Regions from separate parts of the Homo sapiens genome. Here regions 1 and 2 are each linked to region 3. The links are contacts of gene promoters, found by promoter capture Hi-C in blood cells and fetal thymus (Javierre and others, 2016). All regions are on one chromosome and are shown on one strand. Each heading gives the region's core, a stretch centred on a gene start or on the middle of the fragment in contact. The rest is flanking DNA. Distances are from core to core; before and after follow the strand shown.

Region 1 (2,700 bases), core at 26-2,525, 210 kb after region 3:
AATCTCTTGAGTCCAGGAGGCAGAGGTTGCAGTGAGCCAAGATCGCACCACTGCCCTCCAGCCTGTGCAACAGAGTGAGACTCTGTCTCAAACAACAACAACAACAACAACAAAACAACAACAACAACAACTGGTATTAATGCAAACAAAACCACACTGTGAATCCACTGCTCACTTACCTGACAGGCAAATGCTCACAGCGCACCCTGCTGGCGAATCTGTGGGAAAACAGGCTCTCAAGTCCACTGCGGGTGCAAGAGTAAATAGCACTTACACATCTGGGAATTTACTCTTTACACATTTGCATATACAAGCTTTGCCACTGTAGTACTGTTTGTAACAGCAAAACCCAGGAGACACCCACATGTCCTTCACAACAAATGACCTCCAAAATCTACTGTTAAATGGAAAAAGATGTAGATAGTGGTGGGCAGGCTGACACACTTGTGAATAAGAATCGCTGCAGATCTATTGGATCTAAGATGCCAGGAGTGACAAAGCCACCATTAATTTATATGCCACTAAGAAAGACCATTGCTGATTAAATTGGCACAATGCTTAGAATTTTATATTTGAGAACTCATTTAGACTTATTTAGACATGAATTTATATCATATCAACTTTGGGCACAAATAAAAAGGAAACATATAGACAAAATAAATATGTTAAGGTATTAGGTGACACCAGGACTGCCTTCTTGTATGATGCATTCTGATTTCAGAGTTGCTAAAATATGGGAAACAATGGATGCCTCAGAATAGACAGAGAGTATCGGCTTGTATTTAGGAACTCTGCAAGGACAACTAAGAAACTTATAGTGGGGAGGGAGGGAGGGAGGGGAAATTGGGCAAATGGCATGGATAAGAAGGGAGGTATCTAAGACATTTTTTGGCACCATGTAAATATATTACCTATTTAAAAGTAATTTTTTTTAAAAAGGCCATTCCCAGGTCATAGTCAAGATTTTGAACTTCATTTAGAAGTACAGCTTCTTCCCTCTCTCAGGGGCAGGGTCGCAGGGGACATGGGGAAGGGCCTGCTGGTTTCCTGTGGCCGGTGCAGATGCTCTGGGCTTCCCTCTAGGGTGCACTTGTTGGTTCTTCAGATCTTGGTTCACTTCCCTTGAGGAAGCCAATAGATTCTCTAGCTGGCTGCTTGTAACTCCTCCCTCAGTCCTGCAACCCAAGGTCTATCTTGCACTAAGGTCCCTCTGTCCTTCCAGAGCAAGACCCAGGACAGTCCAGTCTGGCTGCCTCATGGGTCCACATTTGGCTGATGGGACTTATAGCACAAGCTCCTTCACACCAAGTTCTCTTTGCTTCATCAGCCTCTTGCTTTCAAGATTGCTCAGGTGTGAGGTGGGTGCCTGGCACCTTCGTCATCTCCAAGCTCTTGAGTGGTCTCCTTGAGACACCAATCCCTAGGCTGAGGGAGAAGGAAAGCTCCCCCTTCCCCTGTGCACTCAAAGCCCTCCAGTAACTTCCTTTAAAGAAAACTCTTCTCAGAGCTCCAACTTGAACCTTTAACGTCTTTGGTGTGGGAAAGAGGCAAGGAGACACACAGCTAGTTTTTGACCATGTCTTTGAAAGCCCTGTGTGTGGACAGCAATTCATCCTGGGAGGTGGAGTAGCTAGGCCCCCTATTGCCTTGGGAACCCAGCCAAATTGGGATGGAAATAATTCCATCTTAGTATATTGTCACATGGATGATCAAACTAAGGAACCTGCCGAGGCCACACAGCTAGTACCCAGCAGGCTGACTCCTAAGCCTGAGCTTTTCCTGCTGCAGGTGGTTCACCCAGAGCTGACTTAAAATAAGCTCATGGTACAGAGGCCAGGCCAGGAGGATGGAGTTAGATGGCCCTTGGTTCAAACTCAGTTGTCATTTATTAGTAGTGTGTCCTTGACTGCTTTCTCCTCTCTGATTCTCCGATCATTTAACCAATAGACGTTTAATGGCCAGGTTGTCTACCACGTGCAAGGCACTCAATTTCATTCTCTGTAAAGATGTGAATAATAAAAGCACCTGTTTCACAGGAGTGTTGAGAATTAATGAGATCATGCTCAAGTGTTTGACAGCGCCCGGCACATGGTAAGGGCTACACAGCAGCACCTATTGTCATTCATAAAGTTCCTCCTATGCGTCAAGGGCTTCACAGACATCTTTAATCCCCATAGTCTAAGAGGTAGGAACTACCATTATCCCTGTTTTCTGAATGAGGAAGCCAAGGCTCAGAGAAGCTTAGGTGACTTGTCTAAGGTCATGCCTGGTATAAGATGGAACCTAAGTTCAAAGCCTGCCCCAAGCCTCCACATGCCCTCTGAGTTTGTCTCTTGAGGAAGGACAACTTTTTTGCCTTTTCGTCAGAGAACCAACCTTTAATCACCCTTCACAACCCAGTTCAAGGGTGTCCGCTTCCGTTTTCCCTGTCCCTCCCTGCCCGACCCAATCGTCCCTCCTGCCACTGCCTTTGTGCCTGCCTTTTTCACAGCAGTAGAGCCTCGGGGTCAAGGGCTGTGGCTCTGCGTTCAGGTAGTTGGGGATTCAAATGCCTCTTACTCCGTGTGTGGCTTCAGGCAAGTCCCATCACCGCTCTAAGCCTCAGTAACTTCTTCCATAGTGGGCTAACCATGGTACCCTTGGGTTGTTAAGGCACAAACGGCCTGGCACAAAGTGAGTGCTCAAATGATGGCAGCTGCT
Region 2 (2,700 bases), core at 114-2,613, 230 kb after region 3:
CTTCTGGGCTGAATCTTGAGGATAAGGATGAGTTTATCAGGTGAACAAACTGGGGAAAGGCATTCCAAGCATGCAAAACAGCTTATCAGTTCAGGAGAGAGTCTCAGCTGGGACTATCAATCTGGTGGCCAGGCTCCTCTCCAGGAGACAGTGACTACAGTCATAGTCAGAAGTAGCTACCACTAGTGACTTGGGGTTAATGGTGGCACTGGCATGGTTAGTACAAGCAGCTAGGCTCCAGTCTTGGCTCTGCCACTGTATGTCCTGGGTAAGCCAGTGCACTACTCTGTGACTCACTTTCCTTGTCTTTGAAACGGGAGGGAAGGACCACATGCCCTACCTACCTGCTCCTTAAGTCAGAGCCGTGAGGTTCAAATCAGCAGATGTATGCAAAAGAACAAGCACAGAGTAATGCACACAGGTAAGGTGGTGTGACACAGCACCAGGAGCTCCCCCAAGCCTCACCTCACCTTGCCATTCATGTGACACACACTGTGGCCCCTGAGGAAAGGGTACTGGAGGTCAGAGAAGCTCCAATCTCAAATACAAGCCCCAAGACACCCACACTGGGCTTTGCAATAGGCCAGGCATGGCTTGAGATAATAAAGTTAGTACTTTTTTATATGGGCCTGAAAACCAGTTGTCATGCAGCCTGGCCCACTGCCTCCTTATTACTCCTATTCAGAGCTAAGTCAACAGCTTGTCCCCAAGCAAGAAAAATTGAGAACCTATAAAAATTAGTCTCAGCCCTCTATTTCCTGACATTCACCAGGGAATGAGAGGCAAAGCCACAGGCCCCGACAAGGACAACAGTACCAGTGTCCTTTCAGGTCTGAAATGCTGAGGGGTCAAGGAAGTAAGCGGAATGTGAAATAAAGGAAGGTCACTGCCTGGAGGACGTGACTGGGTGGGAGGAGAACGAGAAAGACATTTAGGAGCTGGGCATTCACGTACTTGATGACACTGCCTTTCACTCAGGAGTGTGAAACCCCAAAATTAACATATATTTTTATATCCAGAAGTATCTAAAAGGAAGGTTTTGAGTCGGTGTGAAGGTCACAATAGGAATGAAAATAGAGAATAGAACACATGTAATTTCTCAGCCCACTTCCCCAAAGACTGACCATGATGAGATAACTGCATTCCCGAAATAGTTATTATACAATTTTCCTTAGGAATGTCTGACAGACCGAGGCAGATCCTGTGGAGAACCAAAACCCATGAAATGAGGCTGGCGTTCATTCTTGTTCATTCCAGGTAGATGAAGTTCTGCTAAATGGACTATAAAGTCTTTATTAAGGGATCTCAAAGCCCTGGCTTCAGAACTGGGAGCCTGTGATCAAGAGCCTTAAAAATATGCATGCCCTTGACCTGGTATTTCCATTTTTAAAAACTATCCTAAAAAAAATCTGAAATGTGGTTAATTAATCCACAAAAATGTTCATAGCACTGATATTTACAGTAGTAAAACATTGAAAAAAATCTAAATGTCAGGCATCCCATATAATGGATTATTATTATAGCATATGAAAAGGCATATGAAGGATTTTAAGGACATGGGGAAACGTCTGAGATGTAGCATTGATCCAGCAAAACCATATTTATATACAGAACAAAGACTGGATGGAAATATGCCAGAATATCAACCGTAGTTACCAAAGGGTAGATGAGTTTAAGACTTTTTCATTATACTAGTCTGTAGTTTCCATAATGGATATTTTTATTATAATGTTCTAAAGGTTAAAAACAAATAGTTGATGGGTACATGTCTATTGGGGGAAATATACACTTATAAGCCTATTATTCTGTTTTTTACATGATGTTTTTTAAATTAAAAAGAAAAAGCTGGAAAGAAATATACCAAAAAATGGATACCTGGTTACGTATGGACTGTAATATAATGAATAACTTTTTCTTTCTTTTCCTTATTTTTTAAAATTGTAAATTGGCAATTTATAATTGTATATACTTATGGTGTACAAAGTGATGTTATGCTTTAACAATATGAAGTGGATTAAATCAAGCTAGTTAGCATATTCATCACCTCAAATACTCAAAATTTTTGTGGTGAGAACACTTGAAATTAACACTTGGCAATTTTGAAATGTACAATGCTGTTTTATTAACTATATTCATCATGCTGTGCAAGAGATCTAAAAAAGAAAAAGCCCCAAACCATATTCCTCCTGTCTTAAGATTTTATACCCTTTGACCACCATCTCCCCATTATGCCCTCACTTCTGCCTCTGTAACCACACTCTGTCGATTGTTCTAGATTGGAATTGTTCTAGATTCCACACGAGAGCATGCTTTATTTGTGTTTCTGTGCCTGGCTTATTTTAGTTAGCATAATGTTCTCTATCCATGTTGTTGAAAATGACAATTTCCTTCTTTTTAAAGACTGAGTAGTATTCCTACTGTGTATATACACCACATTTGCTTTATCCATTCATCTGCTGGTAAGACACTTATGCTGATCCATAACTTCGCTACTGTGAAGAGCACCGCAATGAGCACGGGAACGTAGACACCTCTTTACAAACTGATTTCAAATCTTTTTAGTCAATACCAAAAAGTGGGACTGCTAGATCTTTTCCTTGTTTCCCTCCCCTAATATTCCTCAATAAATACATTAAGTAACGGAACAGGGGTCACTTCTAAGCTACAAGGAGTAGAAGAGACTTCCTAAGATATAACCCA
Region 3 (2,700 bases), core at 47-2,546:
TAAACTTCAATTTGAATTCAATTTGAATCCTGTCTCTACAATTCCCAACCACGTGACCCTAGACAGGTTGCTATTTTTTCTCCAGCCCTTTCCTTATTCAAAAGGGGAAAACCAGTAACTACTTTTGTGAGATTGTTTGAAGAGTCAATGAGACAACCCATGAAAATGCCCAGCCAGGAGCCTGAACCTTATCAATAACCTTATATTGGATGCCATTGCCGCTCCAAGATTTATTAGTATTTACTATCAAACTCAAGAGAGGAAACCAGCCTTGCATCCTGATGCTCTTGCAGGATTTTTCTCAGGTTCTAGCACTTGGCCTTGACTACTGAGAACTGTGATATTCCAGGCTGGAAAATATTTGCTGTCCCCAAAGGGCAGGTCAATGTGAATAATCTTTTTAATAATAACAATAATAATAATAGCTAATATTTGTAGAGCACTTATTATTGCTTGGCTCTTTTCATGGTTCATTTTATTTATTTCTTACAATATCCTACGGCGCGAGTACTTTTATTATTTTCACTTTACAGATGAGAAAATCTGAGGTTCAAGGGATTAAAGAATTTCTCCAGTGACCTCCAGCTATAAGTGGAAGAGAAGAGACTGGACTGCATCATAGGGATGTTCAGAGATCAGCCAGAAAGATCACCTTTCACAACAGGACTATGGGGCCCAGGCCCCATCCCTGTCATGCCCCTGCTCAGGTGTCTCAGGTCCGAGCGCCAGGACAAAGCCGGAGACTGCGCACTAGGACCGGTGCGCCTTGCTCACTGTCTGACTCTATCCCTCCTGCCCCGTCCACTGTCCCCACCAACGCCCTGCGCCCTCGTCCCTCTCAGTCCCGGTCCTCTCCACTCTAGCGCACTGCCCTACTCTGTCCGTACCCCCAGCCGCCGCCGCCGCCGCCGCGCCCAGTCCCTCGGTCGCTGGCCCGCCCTTCCCCGCCCCCTGCCCCCGGTCCCTCAGCCACTGCCCCGCCCCGCCCGTCCATACCCCTCCACGCCCCTCCCCATGTCCTGCCCGTCCCTCTCCATCCCCTGCACGCCCCGCCCCTCGCCCACTGCCCCGCCCCATCCCCTGTCAGTCCCGTCCATCGCCCACTGCCCCGCCCCGTCTCCTGCACGCCCCGCCCCGTCCCCTGCACGCCCCGCCCTCGCCCACTGCCCCGCCCCGTCCCCTGCACGCCCCGCCCCTCGCCCACTGCTCCGCCCCGTCCCCTGCACGCCCCGCCCTCGCCCACTGCCCCGCCTTCTCCACGCCCCGCCCCTCCCCGCCCCGCGCCTGCCGCGCATTGCAGACGCCCAGCGGCGCCAAGAACCCGGCCAAGCTGACTTGGCGACTCCTCGCAGCCCCTGCTCTGGCACGCCACACCTCAGACGAGGCTTTGAAAGTAGGGCGCAGCCTGAGAGGCCGGCCGGACCCCGAGTGCTGTAGGCGGGCTGGGAGATGGGGGCCGCCGCCACCCACATTCCCACACGCACCCGGCGCCGGCGCCTCACGCCGTGTTAGCTCGCGGCGCCAAGCCCGGAGGGTCCCGCCTGAGGAAGAAAGGTCGTCGCCCGCAGCCCAGCTGGGGCTGGAGGCGCGACCCGGGGTCTCCTCGCCCGCACGCGGAAGAAAATGGGCGCTGTGGCCTCAGTTTCCCTCTGTGAGCACCCGGCCCGGAACTCTGAGGAGTCGTCTGTGGAGGAGCCTTTGGCGTCCCCCTGCCCCTGAGCGTGGCCGTCAGCTCTTCCCAGCCCCTGCACTTTGCTTTCCCCTCCCTCACGCCCGGAAGGGTCTCGCCCTGCCCGGCTCAGCCCTCTCTCCCCACGCCCCTCTCCCAGGGTCCCCGCCCGGTCCCCTTCCGACCCCTTCCTCCCTCCCTTCGCTCCCTCCCCGCCACCGCCGCCACCCTGCCCTTTGCGGGCCGGTTTCCACGGAGTGGCCCCATCCCGGTGGCTTCACGTTGCACGAAGTCAGTTCAATCTGGAGACTGAAAAAGCCTCCGGGACGTGGGGCGGGAGGGTGCGGGGGGAGTTTGTGTGCGTATTTTGTGGGGAGGGGAAAAAGGTTAGGTAATATGTGCTCGGGAAAATCAATGTCTCAGGAATAGCAAATCTCAGGGTTTGGGTTTTTTCTTTGTTTGTTTTCTCTTTTAAGAAGTCCATCACTTAAAAAGTACATTTGATTTTTTTGAGACGGAGTCGCCCTCTGTCGCCCAGGCTGGAGTGCAGTAGGGCGATCGCGGCTCATTGCAGCCTCCGTCTCCCGGGTTCGAGCGATTCTCCTGCCTCAGCCTCCCAAGTAGCTGGGATTACAGACGCCCGCCACCGTGCCTGGCTACTTTTTGTACTTTTAGTAGAGACGGGGTTTCACCATGTTGGCCAGGCTGGTCTCCAGTTCCTGGCATCAAAGTGATCCGCCCGCCTCAGCCTCCCACAGTGCTGGGATTACAGGCGTGAGCCACTGCGCCAGGCCAAAAAGTACATTTTAAAAGTACCTCACACCACTGGGAGCCATTTAAAAAGATAAATAGGAATTTATTCCGAGAGAGCGAAACACACAGACTAAAAAGGAAAGTAGTGGAACCAGCGCAAGGTACAAGCCATATGCATTAAAATCTCCAGCTGCCCCGTAGGGGAACATGGTTTGGCGGATTGCGTCACCTTTAGTTGGGGCATAATGATTGAATTCTTGCGGTACAAATAGACACTG

The links. The method cuts DNA at HindIII sites, captures the fragments that hold promoters and counts their contacts. A CHiCAGO score of 5 or more calls a contact.
Region 1: a contact is called between a fragment that was not itself captured here and the fragment with the promoter of RAD21L1 in region 3, in 7 of 17 cell types (naive CD4 T cells, activated CD4 T cells, non-activated CD4 T cells and 4 more). The highest score is 11.1, in naive CD4 T cells.
Region 2: a contact is called between a fragment that was not itself captured here and the fragment with the promoter of RAD21L1 in region 3, in 1 of 17 cell types (total CD4 T cells). The highest score is 5.0, in total CD4 T cells.

The regions. Positions count from the first base shown.
Region 1 is chr20:1,437,273-1,439,972 of GRCh38, forward strand. No RefSeq gene overlaps it. Among named protein-coding and RNA genes, the nearest start is that of NSFL1C, 28 kb to the right of the region's middle. The HindIII fragment of the contact is 1,926 bases long and covers 313-2,238 here.
Region 2 is chr20:1,455,370-1,458,069 of GRCh38, forward strand. The region is part of intron 3 of NSFL1C (NSFL1 cofactor); the gene reads right to left. Among named protein-coding and RNA genes, the nearest start is that of NSFL1C, 10 kb to the right of the region's middle. The HindIII fragment of the contact is 4,620 bases long and covers 1-2,700 here.
Region 3 is chr20:1,224,748-1,227,447 of GRCh38, forward strand. RAD21L1 (RAD21 cohesin complex component like 1) reads left to right here and starts at 1,297. Exons shown (of 14, transcript NM_001384355.1): 1 at 1,297-1,393. RefSeq lists a silencer at 1,509-1,558. The HindIII fragment of the contact is 7,037 bases long and covers 1-2,700 here.